Regions from separate parts of the Homo sapiens genome. Here regions 2 and 3 are each linked to region 1. Evidence: promoter capture Hi-C in human tissues and cell types (Jung and others, 2019). All regions are on one chromosome and are shown on one strand. The core of a region is centred on a gene start or on the middle of the fragment in contact, and the rest is flanking DNA. Distances in the headings are between cores, read along the strand shown. Region 1 holds the start of ADCY5 (adenylate cyclase 5). Region 2 overlaps HACD2 (3-hydroxyacyl-CoA dehydratase 2). Region 3 overlaps ADCY5 (adenylate cyclase 5).

Region 1 (3,811 bases), core at 1,312-3,811:
TCATCTTTATAGTGGGGATAACCTTCCTCAGAATAGTTATCTGACAATAAAATGTTTACAGACATACAACAGTTGCTTAGTAAATATTAATTAGTCCATCCTCCCTTTCTTAGACATCCTTCCCTGCTAGACCCAGGTTTGACTTCCAGGCCCTTGTTTGGCCCTCACAGTGGGAAGTGACACCCCCTCTCTCTGAATGCCCGAGGTGCTGTTTGCACTTCTATTGAACCCAGAACTTTGCTCTGACCTAGAGATAGTGGCTAGCTCTTCTCCGTCACTGACTTGTTCGACTTGTTCCCGGTCTAGAGTTTGGTCATCTCTCTATCCTGGTAGCAACTAGCACAATGCTTTGTACATTGAGGGTTCTCTAGAATTTTTATTGACTAAATTCATGTTTTTTTTTACAACTTGGCTAATAGTGGAATACTCAAAGGCTGGATTACCCAAGGGTTAGTTTATTCTGACCTCTTGGAATTTTTCTCCTCCCAATTTGTAACTCTGGCAAGGTTTATCTTCCAGTCTGCAGAGATGACCAGCAGAGAGAGACAAAGAAGGAAGCTCACTTAGACCTCTAGGCTCCCTGTCAGAAGCTCTGGGGAGAGAGTTGGAGGATGAAGAAGGGGAAAGTAAAAGCTGTTTACCCCCAGGCTGGGTAGGAGTGTGGTCTCCCACCTCTCCAGGGTTTAGACTGTCAGAACTCCAGCAGGACAGCTTGGGGGCAAAGGGAATTGGGTAGACACATCATTCTACAGGCCTACGTCCTTTTTGCCTAGCAGTCGAATCCTTCTCTCCATTCCTGCCTCTTGTGGCTGGTGCTGTGTATCTAGCCATTTTCCCCTTCCCCTGCTTCCCCCCAAGTGGGCACGCCAGCTTGCTCAGGTGCCCATCCTTCCTGCTAACACCTTGTTAGGTTAGGGAGGCAGTCTGGCGCTGACGAAGGACCTTTGGGTGCCAAGTTAGTAGACCTGTGTGACCTATAGCAAGTTGAATAAGCTCCCAGAGCCTCAGTTTCTGCATCTATAAGCTGGGAATAGCTACACGGTCTCTGTCCTCTGTCTCATCCTAGGATTACTGACGGGAACCAAGTGAGATTTATGAGACTTTACGAACAGGCAAAGAGCGCTTTATAAAAGCCAGGTGTTTCCAGTGTTCACTGTGGGGCTTTCTCCTGGTAACTACCCACCAAAGCCTCCCTGTCCGCCCCGCCCCGGCTGCATCGGCCTCACCCACTGCATCACCATCTTTTCCATCACTGTCTTCCTGCGTCTCAGAAGTCCTGTTTCTGCATCTCCCCTGTCCATTTCCGGGTCTGGCTCTCCGGCCCCTGAGACCCCTCCAGGGACTCTGTTCTCCTTCTCCTTGAGGCACTCGCTGCCCAGGCGCCCCCCACCCGGTGCGCCCTCCTTTGGCACAGCCGCCGGGCCAGAGAATCGCCCAATAAGAGCGCCGGACTGTAGTCTGACAGCTCCGGAAGCGGCCAATCGAGCCGGGCCAGGGAAGGGGGGCGCAGCGCCGGGGCTGAAGTTGGGTTAAATGGGGGGAGGGGGATTAAAGGGGGATACAAAAGAGGGGAGCTAGGACTGGGGGCGCTGGAGCCCTGGCCGGGGGCGGGGGAAGACCGCGCTCCACCCAGGTCTGGTGACGGGACCGCAGGCTGGATGCGGCTCCTAGTCCCAGGGAGGGAGGGGCGCAGCGAGAATTTTAGGTGAGGAAGGGGAACTGGGGTGCCCGCGGCCAGGCCTGAGGATGCCCGCGGGGCGCCGAGGCTGGGGCCATGGCCAGGCCGGGGGCGGAGGCGGCCTCGCGCGGCTGTGAGCCGAGGCCCGGGCGGCGCGGGGGGCGGGGAGGCAGCGGGAGGAGGGGATGCGGAGGGCTCTCCGGCGGCGGCGAGCGGGCGAGAAGGGAGGAGCGGCGCGAGCGGCCGGAGCGGCGCAGGGCCCGAAGCGTGCATGGCGCGCCCTGAGCCGGGCTCCCGCGGGCCCCCCCGGAGCGCCTCTCGGGCGCCGCGGCTCTCAGGCGGGCCCCTCTGGGCCGGCTGCTTCTGAGCCCCGGCGCTGGATCTCTGGATGCCTTACTCCCCGGGAGAAGCCTGCCTGCGTCGGGGCAGAACCGCGGCAGCGCTGCGCCGGATTCCGTCCTCCGCCTAGTCGTTCCGCGCCGGCCGCGGTGGGCCCGCAGCCGGCGACGAGGAGCTTGGGGCTTGCGAAGCGGGCGCGACAGCTCTCCGGGCCGGCAGGTCCCGGCCGGCCCCGCTCCGTTTGCGGGAAAGGGAGAGGCGAGAGGGGAAGGGCCGCACCGCAGGAGCCGGTCCCTGACCCGGACCCCGCCCCCTGCGCGGACGCGCCGAAGGCTCGGCTCGGCTTTCGCCGGGGCCACGCATCCACTCTCGCCGCGAGAGGTGGGGGATGCGGGCAACGGCCCCCCCGGGCTCCAGGACCCTCCCCCCCGGGGCTCCGGAGCTGTTGCTCCGCCCGTCGCCCCCTCCCCCGTCCTCTCCACCTCCCATCCCACCTCCCCACCCCTCGTAAGAAAATAATGCTGGCTGGCGCCCGCACCTCCCAGTCGCTCCCAGTCCGCTGCGAGGAAAGCGCACCCGCAGTGTCTCTTCGCCGGGACCCCCGCCGAGCCGCCCTCGCCGCCGCCGAGCCCCGAGAGCAGCTGGGCTCCGCTTAGGCGGAATCAGCGAGCGCCGCGCCCGGGCACTGCCGGCCCGAGGAGGCACCGCCCGCAAGGACACCACTCCGTCCCGTCTCGTCCGCAACTCCGGCCCTCGTCGAGCTCGACGCGAGCCAGGATCCCGGACGTCTCTCCGCGTGCGGCGCAGCAGCAGCCAGACCAGTCCCTGCGACCCCACCTCGGAGGCAACTCCATTTCGGACCTGGGACTTCTGACGCGGATCCTCAGCTACTTCTCACCTCGGGGCTGTGCCCTCCTCCTCCGCTCAGGACGGGGGTGCCAAGATGCCCCGCTGCAGCGCAGGGCCCCGGGCCGCCCCCGACGTGTGACCCTAGCCTGGTCCCCCTGCTCGGCCGTCCGCCCTCCCCTTGGAGACCCCCGGCCCGGCTTCCGGGGGAGGAGGAAGGAGACGACGAGGCCGAGGGGGGGATGTCCGGCTCCAAAAGCGTGAGCCCCCCGGGCTACGCGGCGCAGAAGACTGCGGCGCCGGCGCCCCGGGGAGGCCCCGAACACCGCTCTGCGTGGGGCGAGGCCGATTCCCGCGCGAATGGCTACCCCCATGCCCCCGGGGGCTCTGCCCGCGGCTCCACCAAGAAACCCGGGGGGGCGGTGACCCCGCAGCAGCAGCAGCGCCTGGCCAGCCGCTGGCGCAGCGACGACGACGACGATCCTCCGCTGAGCGGTGACGACCCCCTGGCCGGGGGCTTCGGCTTCAGCTTCCGCTCCAAGTCCGCCTGGCAGGAGCGCGGCGGCGACGACTGCGGTCGCGGCAGCCGCCGGCAGCGGCGGGGCGCGGCCAGCGGGGGCAGCACCCGGGCGCCCCCTGCGGGCGGCGGCGGCGGCTCGGCGGCGGCGGCTGCCTCGGCGGGCGGGACGGAGGTGCGCCCTCGCTCGGTGGAGGTGGGTCTGGAGGAGCGGCGGGGCAAGGGGCGCGCGGCCGACGAGCTGGAGGCCGGCGCCGTCGAGGGCGGCGAGGGGTCCGGGGATGGCGGCAGCTCGGCGGACTCGGGCTCGGGCGCGGGGCCCGGCGCGGTGCTGTCCCTGGGCGCCTGCTGCCTGGCGTTGCTGCAGATATTCCGCTCCAAGAAGTTCCCGTCGGACAAACTGGAGCGGCTGTACCAGCGCTACTTCTTCC
Region 2 (3,997 bases), core at 15-2,514, 68 kb before region 1:
GGGGTTTCACCGTTTTAGCCGGGATGGTCTCGATCTCCTGACCTCGTGATCCGCCCGCCTCGGCCTCCCAAAGTGCTGGGATTACAGGCGTGAGCCACCGCGCCCGGCCCAAATATTTTTAAAGCACTGTACAAGCCCAAACAGAACATCTATGGTCAGGGACCGTAGGTCACCATTTTGATATTTCTGGTCCAAGAGATGGTGTTCATAGCTTTTTTTCCCCACCTTTTGAAATTTTTGCAATTATTACACTGTCATAGAACAGAAAGAACCATGACATTTCACAAAATATATTGCCAGTTTCATGTTCTTTTGACATTTCAGTTACCTTTCTGTCAGTGGTAAATCTTCTCCCCTCTGGAGTGTTGGGTGGGCACATTGGGATACTGCATTTGGAGATTTGGGGGCGGACTGTGGGTTGAGTAGGCCCCAGCTCTTTTCTTGGGGCCACAGTCACCAATTGCTGAGAATATTGTTCTCTGGGCTATCATTGCTGGAGTTAAAGGACTATCACTTCATAGAATATTTAGACTGGATTAGATATATATGATGAAGGTTGGGATTAAATATGACTCCATTCTGATGCAGTGTCTGTGTTTGAATTGAGTTGAAGGTAATAGTTGCATGAAAGCTTTTCAGTTAGTAACACGCTTTTTGGAGGTGAGCAAATCAAACAGGACTAAGGAAGAATATTGGGAAAGACTAGCAGCTGGTGAGATCCTTAGACATCTCAGAGTTGGTAGACATATGTTAACCTTCAAGTAGAGGGAGAGGTGGCATCTTTTAAACAATGCTTGGGCAACAAAAAGCAAAACAAGAAAAACACAAAGCATTTCTTTGTAATTAAGCCTAAGAGACAGCCATCAGGTTGTATGGAGTCTCAGCAGTGACTAGCATAGATAGTAGGATCTCAATAAATTGAATTTTTCCCTTCATGGAATAATAATGGTAACTGCTTAAATGGCAAGGGCTTTGCTAAGCACTTAATATGTTTTTCTGACCTCTCCAGTTTACAAATGAGGAAGCTGAGGATCAGAGAGGATAAGTAACTTGCCTCAGGACATGCAGCCAGGAAGTCTGGAGATCTGTTTGATTCCAGAGTTACACTCAATTGGAGTAGAGGCCAGTGGTGGTGAAGCTAGGCTAGTTGAGGTACCGACCATCCTTTCTTCATGTTTTCCAGAAAACAGGCTGAACACATAGGAACCATTAAAGTTGGACTAATGGGAACATTTTAGCATTCTGCATGTCTGGCCTGTCATAAATGCAGAATCGATCATGTATCGCTTGTTGATTGCATGCTTATATATCTTTTCATTGCATGTTCAGAAAAGTTTACTTTGTGACCAAGAGTTGTTTTGATAGGCCAGAACATTTAACTAGTCCATTATTCACATCAAAAAAATAGTTCTCAGTTATTGGTGTTGTAATGGTAAGAACTTTTTAACCAGTTTCCTTTGTCACTGTAGGATTTTTTTAAAAATCTGGCCGGGTATGGTGGCACACGCCTGTAATCCCAGCACTTTGGGAGGCCGAGGTGGGCGGATCACGAGGTCAGAAGATCGAGACCATCCTGGCTAACACGGTGAAACCCCATCTCTACTAAAAATACAAAAAATTAGCCGGGCGTCGCAGCGGGCGCCTGTAATCCCAGCTACTCGGGAGGCTGAGGCAGGAGAATGGCGTGAACCCGGGAGGCGGAGGTTGCAGTGAGCAGAAGATCATGCCACTGCACTGCAGCCTGGGTGACAGAGCGAGACTCCATCTCAAAAAAAAAAAAAAAAAATATGTTGCACATTATTCTCTCCTTTAAAGGGGAAGAAATATTAATATTTTTATAACTCACATTTTTCATAAAATAGGAATAGTATTTTGTTTAGCAGGCACTTTATCATGGATTTTTAATAAATTATAAAGGACACTTTATACATAAAATTGTTGTGTGAAAAGACTAATACTAGGCCAGGCGCGGTGGCTCATGCCTGTAATCCCAGCACTCTGGGAAGCCAAGGAGGGCGGATCACTTAAGATCAGGAGTTTGAGACTAGCCTGGGCAACATGGTGAAACCCCGTCTCCACCAAAAAAATACAAAAATTTAGCCGGGCATGGTGGTGCATACCTGTAGTCCCCAGCTACTCCAGAGACTGAGGCAAGATAATCACTTGAACTGGAGAGGCGGAGATTGCAGTGAGCTGACACTGTGCCACTGCACTGCAGCCTGGGTGACAGAGCAAGACTCCGTCTCAAAAAAAAACAAAAAACCCCAACATACTCATCCAAATATCTTTTTTTTTTAAACCACCATGTGTGTATCTATTACTATTACATTTCAATATCAAGGATGAAATTCCTTTTAGATAAATAACCAAATGACTTAACATTTTTGTTCAAAAAAGCTTAATCAAGTTAGAGAAAGGACCCAGATTGTCGTTAGAACTGCCCTGTTCTCGAGCCCAAGCCCTCAGCTGACGGACCAACCAGCACCAGCACTGCAGCCCCTTAGGAGCTGCCCTCCCACCCAAGGCTGTTCCAGCTGAGTCAGAGCACATTTGCTGAGACTGCAGTTGGGTTGCCATCTATTATTTCTTCATTCCTGTTCATTCAACAGATATTTATTCAGTATCTTCTATGCCCCAGGCATTGTGCTAAGCACTAAGTAAGACACATGAGAAAAGGACAGATGCAGTTGTTGCCCTCACAGGGCTTCCAGCCTAGTATGAGTCAAGCAGAATCCAGCAGACAGCAAACACCATATAGTGGGATAACTGCTAAGGCAGAGGGATGATAGTGCTGTGACCGCTGGGTCATCCCTCAGTTGCCCAGTTGAGGGCTGAGTAGGCTGTTCCAGTTCCTCAGGAGCTGTGCCAGTCTCCCAGGCCCCGTGGTTCCCTTCATGAGGTGGTCTGCGAGTTAACACATACAAAGCACTTAGAACACTGCCTGGTGCTTAGTAAGTGCTCAATAAATCTTAGCTACCTACTGGGTATAATGTAACCTAATCTTTCCCCAAAAATTTAATGACAAATTTCTGTATAACTGTTTTGAATTCTGTGTCCTGAGGTTTCTAACAGAGATATAATTGGCTTTTCACACAGAACTGAATATGTTCTTTATACATACTAAAATAGTTTCACAGTTAGCTGGTGAAAATTTATGCATAATTACTTTTATCATTCTTAAGGAATAATTAGCCCTGCTAATGGGAACTATCATTATCTTAATCATCATTATTATCCCAATCTAAAGCATTTATTAAGAATTTGATTTTGCCTTATAACTAAGCTAGCCCTTCTTCAAAGCAAGTTTGTGACCTTGTCTTCGGCTTGTTTACGGTCTAAGACAATACTGATGGGGAGGTAGATTGGGGCCAGTGTTCATTCTGCTGTTCCCTCTCAAGTTACCTTCCATTCATGTACGCTTGTTGATATGTTTTCTTATAAATGTTATGTCTTTATGGTTATAAAACCCACCTCTTCCAGCAGATCCTGAGGCCTCACACCCAAAATAATATGTTTAGAGAACCAGATAATAGTTATATTTCCTTCTCATTGTACCCCCGGAGTGGTTGCTTAGTATTTAGGTGATTTTTAGAAAACAATTTTTTCTGAAGTAATTTCAAACTTAGAGAAAAGTTGCCAGAGCAGTACAAAGAACTCTCATATTCTCTTCACTCAGATTCCCCAATTATTGGCATTTTACTTCATTTGTTTCGTTTCCTACTCTCTCTGTGTTTTTTGTTTTTTTGAGACAAGTCTCACTCTGGTGCCCCAGGCTGGAGTGCAATGGCGAGATCTTGGCTCACTGCAACCTCTGCCTCCTGGGCTCAAGCGATTCTCCCACCTCAGCCTCCTGAGTTGCTGGGACCACAGGCGCTTGCCACCACGCTCGGCTAATTTTTGTATTTTTTGTAGTGGCAGGGTTTCACCATGTTGCCCAGGCTGGTCTTGAACTGCTGGGCTCAAGCAATCCGCCCGCCTCAGCTTCCCAAAGTGGTGG
Region 3 (3,896 bases), core at 364-2,863, 97 kb after region 1:
ACACACATCTCAGTTGTTGGGGAGCGGGGGAAATGGCAGGCACTGGCCGGCTGGTGCAGTGGTTGTCAGAGAGCTGGCAACAGAAAGACCAGAAGCCTAGGGAGGAAGGAGTGGAGACCCACTGTGGCCATGGACCCCGACTGGCCAGCCTTGCCCTTTTGTTCCCTAGAGCATTTAGCACAGTGCTGGGGACCTGAGGGGATTCGAGAATCCTTGATTCATCGGAGCTGATCTCTGGGGGAGGGTGGCCCCTTGTCCTGTACTGGACTCTATCACACTTTCAAAAGTGAAATCCCAGCACCCTTGTGGCACCTTCCTTGCAGTGGCCCTCCTGCCCCGAGCACACACACAGCTCTGTCACAGTACATGTAGCCTTTTAATTTCTGGTACTATAGGCATGTTTAGTATGATTATTAGGTGATTCAGTGTCTTTAGAGGACATATCCCATGACAAGCCAGCCAAACTTCTGGCTTTGAGGACATCAGAGAGCCCGATCGATTATGCTCGGCTGCTCACAGTGGTTGGCCGCGTGTGGGGTGCCCTCAGCATTTGTTTGCTAGCGCCAGGTGTGAGTTTGCTGAGACAGGGGCTGAGGGCTTCATGCTTTGGGGCCAGGAAGGTCAGGATCTGAGCTAGGTGTGCTCCTCTCTCCCTCTGCAGCTTGTCTCCAATGTTCTCATTTTCTCCTGCACCAACATCGTGGGTGTCTGCACCCACTATCCGGCTGAGGTCTCCCAGAGACAGGCTTTCCAGGAGACCCGAGAGTGCATCCAGGCGCGGCTCCACTCGCAGCGGGAGAACCAGCAGCAGGTGAGTGAGGCCCCTGCCCTTGCACAGTGGGACGGAGTCGAGCCCTGAGATGTACCTCAGCTGAGTGCCTGGCCTAGGGCGGGCAGTGCTTATTACGGCTGCCAGCCCCACTCCCCGGGAGGGGACCAACCCATGGGGAATGTTTCCCCTGGAGAGAGTCCAGCATTCCAGGCCCTGTGGGAAGTGAGTTCTACCCAGCCCGTGCCCAAGGCCTGGTGCCCATAGCCATGTGGCGTCCCTGTGGTTTGCAAACAAGCCCAGCAGCCAGAGGGTCCCTCTCTCCCTCCCCACACGGCCCCCACTCCTTCCCCACACTGCTCACCACTCCCTCCCCGCACTGCACCCCGCCTTGAGTTGGAGTAAGGAGAGAAGCCAGCATTCCTAACTGGGATTAAGGTGCTCCGCAGGGGAGGGATGAGGGAGAAGAAGAGGAGACAGGAGCTGTCATCCCCTGAAACACCCCACACCTGGCTATTCCCCTCTCTGAGTTCTGGGGTTTGGTGGTTCTGAGAAGGAAGAAAGTCCCATCTCTTCCTAGACCGACTGCCTGGGTCAGGGAAGGCAGGCCATTCCCAGGGCCACAGATTCCTGGTGCAAAGAGGGACCTGCCCTGTGTGCACCACTCTTGGGTGGGGTGGGAGCAGGGCTGAGGGCCACATCAGGGGTCCAGCCCTTCCCTCTTTGGGGGCGGAGTCCTGTTTGGATTCCAGGTCTGGATCCCCACTGTCTCCTCTTCTGTGTGTGAATCAGGTAGGGGTCTGGTGACTCTGAGTCATGGCTCACACATGGGAGGCCTGGGGGGCTGTGTGGCCTAGGGGAGAGAGTGGGCGGGTCTGCAGGGTGATGGGGCTCCCACTAGCTCCTGTGAGATAAGGTTGCTCCAAACCGGAGGCCTTCCCTCCCATCTTAGATTACCATCTCCCCAGACCCTCAGCAAGCATCAGTGGAGCTCATCTAAGTGCCGCATGCTGCGTCAGCCCCCATGGCTGATATGAACATGGAAGGTCTGCCTTTGAGTGTGGGGGACACGGAGAAATGGCCAAGATGGCAGTGGTCACTCATGGCTCCAGGCTGGCACGGAGCACATGCTGTGGCCACCCTGAGTGCAGAATGTTTTAGTACTGTGGGGGGTGTCCTTGATGCCATCTGGTTGCATCCTAAGTGAGTCACAGTGATATGGCTGGTGACATCCAGACAGCCAAACGAGGGGGCAAAGCTCTGTAGTACCTCTCCAGGCCCCCCAGTCCCCACCTGTCTCCACTTCCCTTCCAGCGCTGCCTCGGTGGTCGCCATGTCTTGTCAGGTCTCCACTTAAGCTGACCAGTCCCCAGCCTGGCTCTCCCCATTCACTCTGGCCCTGTCTGAGCTTCTGGTCCAGCATCTTGAAGGAAGCCCTTGCTGGCAGGGTCCCTGGGGTCCTCCCACTGCCCTTTATTAACACATGTACCTCGCCTCTGGCACACTGCACCACACTCACCCCCAGGCCTCAGCATTCCTGAAAAGCCCCTCATCATCCCCATTCCAGGCCTCAGCATCTCTCACCTGAGATCAGGATACCTCCTCCTTCCATTTTTGGGGCTGTGCCTCTCACTTCTCCAGGGGAATTACCATTTTACAGCTTGCCACAGTTTCCTTGCTCTGCCCGGGCCAGTCTGGGCATTCCACCAAATCCACAGGGATTTAGGGGAGAAAATATTTTTGCCATTCCATATTCGGAGCCAATGTGCTGAGGAGGGGAAGCTTTCTGCAGACAGGTGCTTCTCAACCGGCCATAGCCAGCAAGGCGTGCAGAAAGAGCTGCTGGGGCTCCCTGGGGGAAGCTTCTAGGTGCCCTGTGATGAGTGGGCTCAGAATTGTTCCTCAGCGGCCCCCTGCCCACCCCTCCTGGCCCTCAGCCCCAGAGGTGGTTGTAAATGTAGGAGGGCCTCTCATGAAGCCAAACGGTTTGTAGCACGGTCTCTCCCAGTCATCCCACACTGTCTTTTAATTCCTATTTCTATCACCAGTAACTATTTACTGAGAGTTGGCCTTTGGTGGTCGTGTTTCCTGCTGCTTGGGGAGACCAGACCGACCCACAGAGAACACCGCCCTTCACTAATGTGTCAGCTTCTCGAGCATAAGGCTCTGGGCTGTGGCACTGGACAAGACGCAGCTCCGGTCCCCAAGGTGGCCTCTCCTCACACACAGTTAACAGGCCACTGATGTGGCGTTTCAGCGAGTGGGGGAGGGGATGCCAGCAGCCAGAATTGGACCTCCTCCTGGGAAAAGGGAGACCCTGAAGGAGGGTGAGGAGCAGCGGAGGAGGAGGGTGATGCCAGCTGAGGAGCTTGTGCACAACAGCAAGAAAGACCCCAGGAAGTGTGGGGGCCTCTGTGTTCTGCTCTATCTGGAGTGGAGTGTGGATTTCATTTCAGTGCTGCTGGGACAGCAGGTGGAAGGGCAGGGAGGAGTCAGGTCACGGAAACCTCCAGGCCAGGCTGTGGGCGTGGGCTGATCTCAGCAGTGTCAGGAGGCTTAGAAGGCGACATGGTCTGGTGTATTTTAGGAAAAGCAGTTGCTTGCTTGCAGTGGGAAGGATGGACCAGAGGCAGCAAGCTTGGAGACAAGCAAAGTGATCTGGAGGGTACCCTGGTCATCCAGTCTGGCCCTGAAGGTGGCCTGGGCGGCAACAGGCTGAGGTTTGGGTGGAGAGGGTGCTTCAGCAAGGAGAGGAGCAGCAGCCAGTCTGGGGGTGGCAGGAGCGGGCCAGGCAAGCATGAGGCATAGCAAGGGGGTAGGGGGACATGGGCTTTGCTTTGCAGTGGAAAATAAGGAAGAGTGAGTTCAGCGGGTCTGGAAGAACCCATATGTGATGTGGCTGGTGAAACTAGAAAACCTGTGGAGGTGTTGAGCACAGGTAGTGTTTCAGAGAGATCGGGGCTGTGCAGGCGTCAGGGAGGGCAGAGGGAGGCTGTCGGTCCAGGGTGTCGCGACCAGAATCCAAGAGCCAGGCGAGAACTGCATGTGGGCAGTGGAGGAAGGCACAGAACAGAAAGGACAAGTGTGAGAGCTGTTTCCAGATGAGCAGGACTTCGTCAGTGCTGGA

What was found. Contacts are between HindIII fragments. The study calls those that stand out against the background at their distance.
Region 2: a contact is called between a fragment that was not itself captured here and the fragment with the promoter of ADCY5 in region 1, in 2 of the 25 tissues and cell types used here (bladder and ovary).
Region 3: a fragment that was not itself captured here is called in contact with the fragment with the promoter of ADCY5 in region 1 in 5 of the 25 tissues and cell types used here (IMR-90 fibroblasts, dorsolateral prefrontal cortex, heart left ventricle and 2 more).

The regions. Positions count from the first base shown.
Region 1 is chr3:123,447,840-123,451,650 of GRCh38, reverse strand. It overlaps ADCY5 (adenylate cyclase 5), which reads left to right and starts at 2,561. Exons shown (of 21, transcript NM_183357.3): 1 at 2,561-3,811. The coding sequence starts at 3,106. RefSeq lists an enhancer at 3,500-3,811. The HindIII fragment of the contact is 15,282 bases long and covers 1-3,811 here.
Region 2 is chr3:123,514,023-123,518,019 of GRCh38, reverse strand. The region is part of intron 4 of HACD2 (3-hydroxyacyl-CoA dehydratase 2); the gene reads left to right. Among named protein-coding and RNA genes, the nearest start is that of ADCY5, 67 kb to the right of the region's middle. The HindIII fragment of the contact is 5,021 bases long and covers 1-3,774 here.
Region 3 is chr3:123,349,347-123,353,242 of GRCh38, reverse strand. It overlaps ADCY5 (adenylate cyclase 5), which reads left to right. Exons shown (of 21, transcript NM_183357.3): 2 at 662-811. Among named protein-coding and RNA genes, the nearest start is that of ADCY5, 98 kb to the left of the region's middle. RefSeq lists enhancers at 1,240-2,218, 3,304-3,804. The HindIII fragment of the contact is 4,980 bases long and covers 1-3,896 here.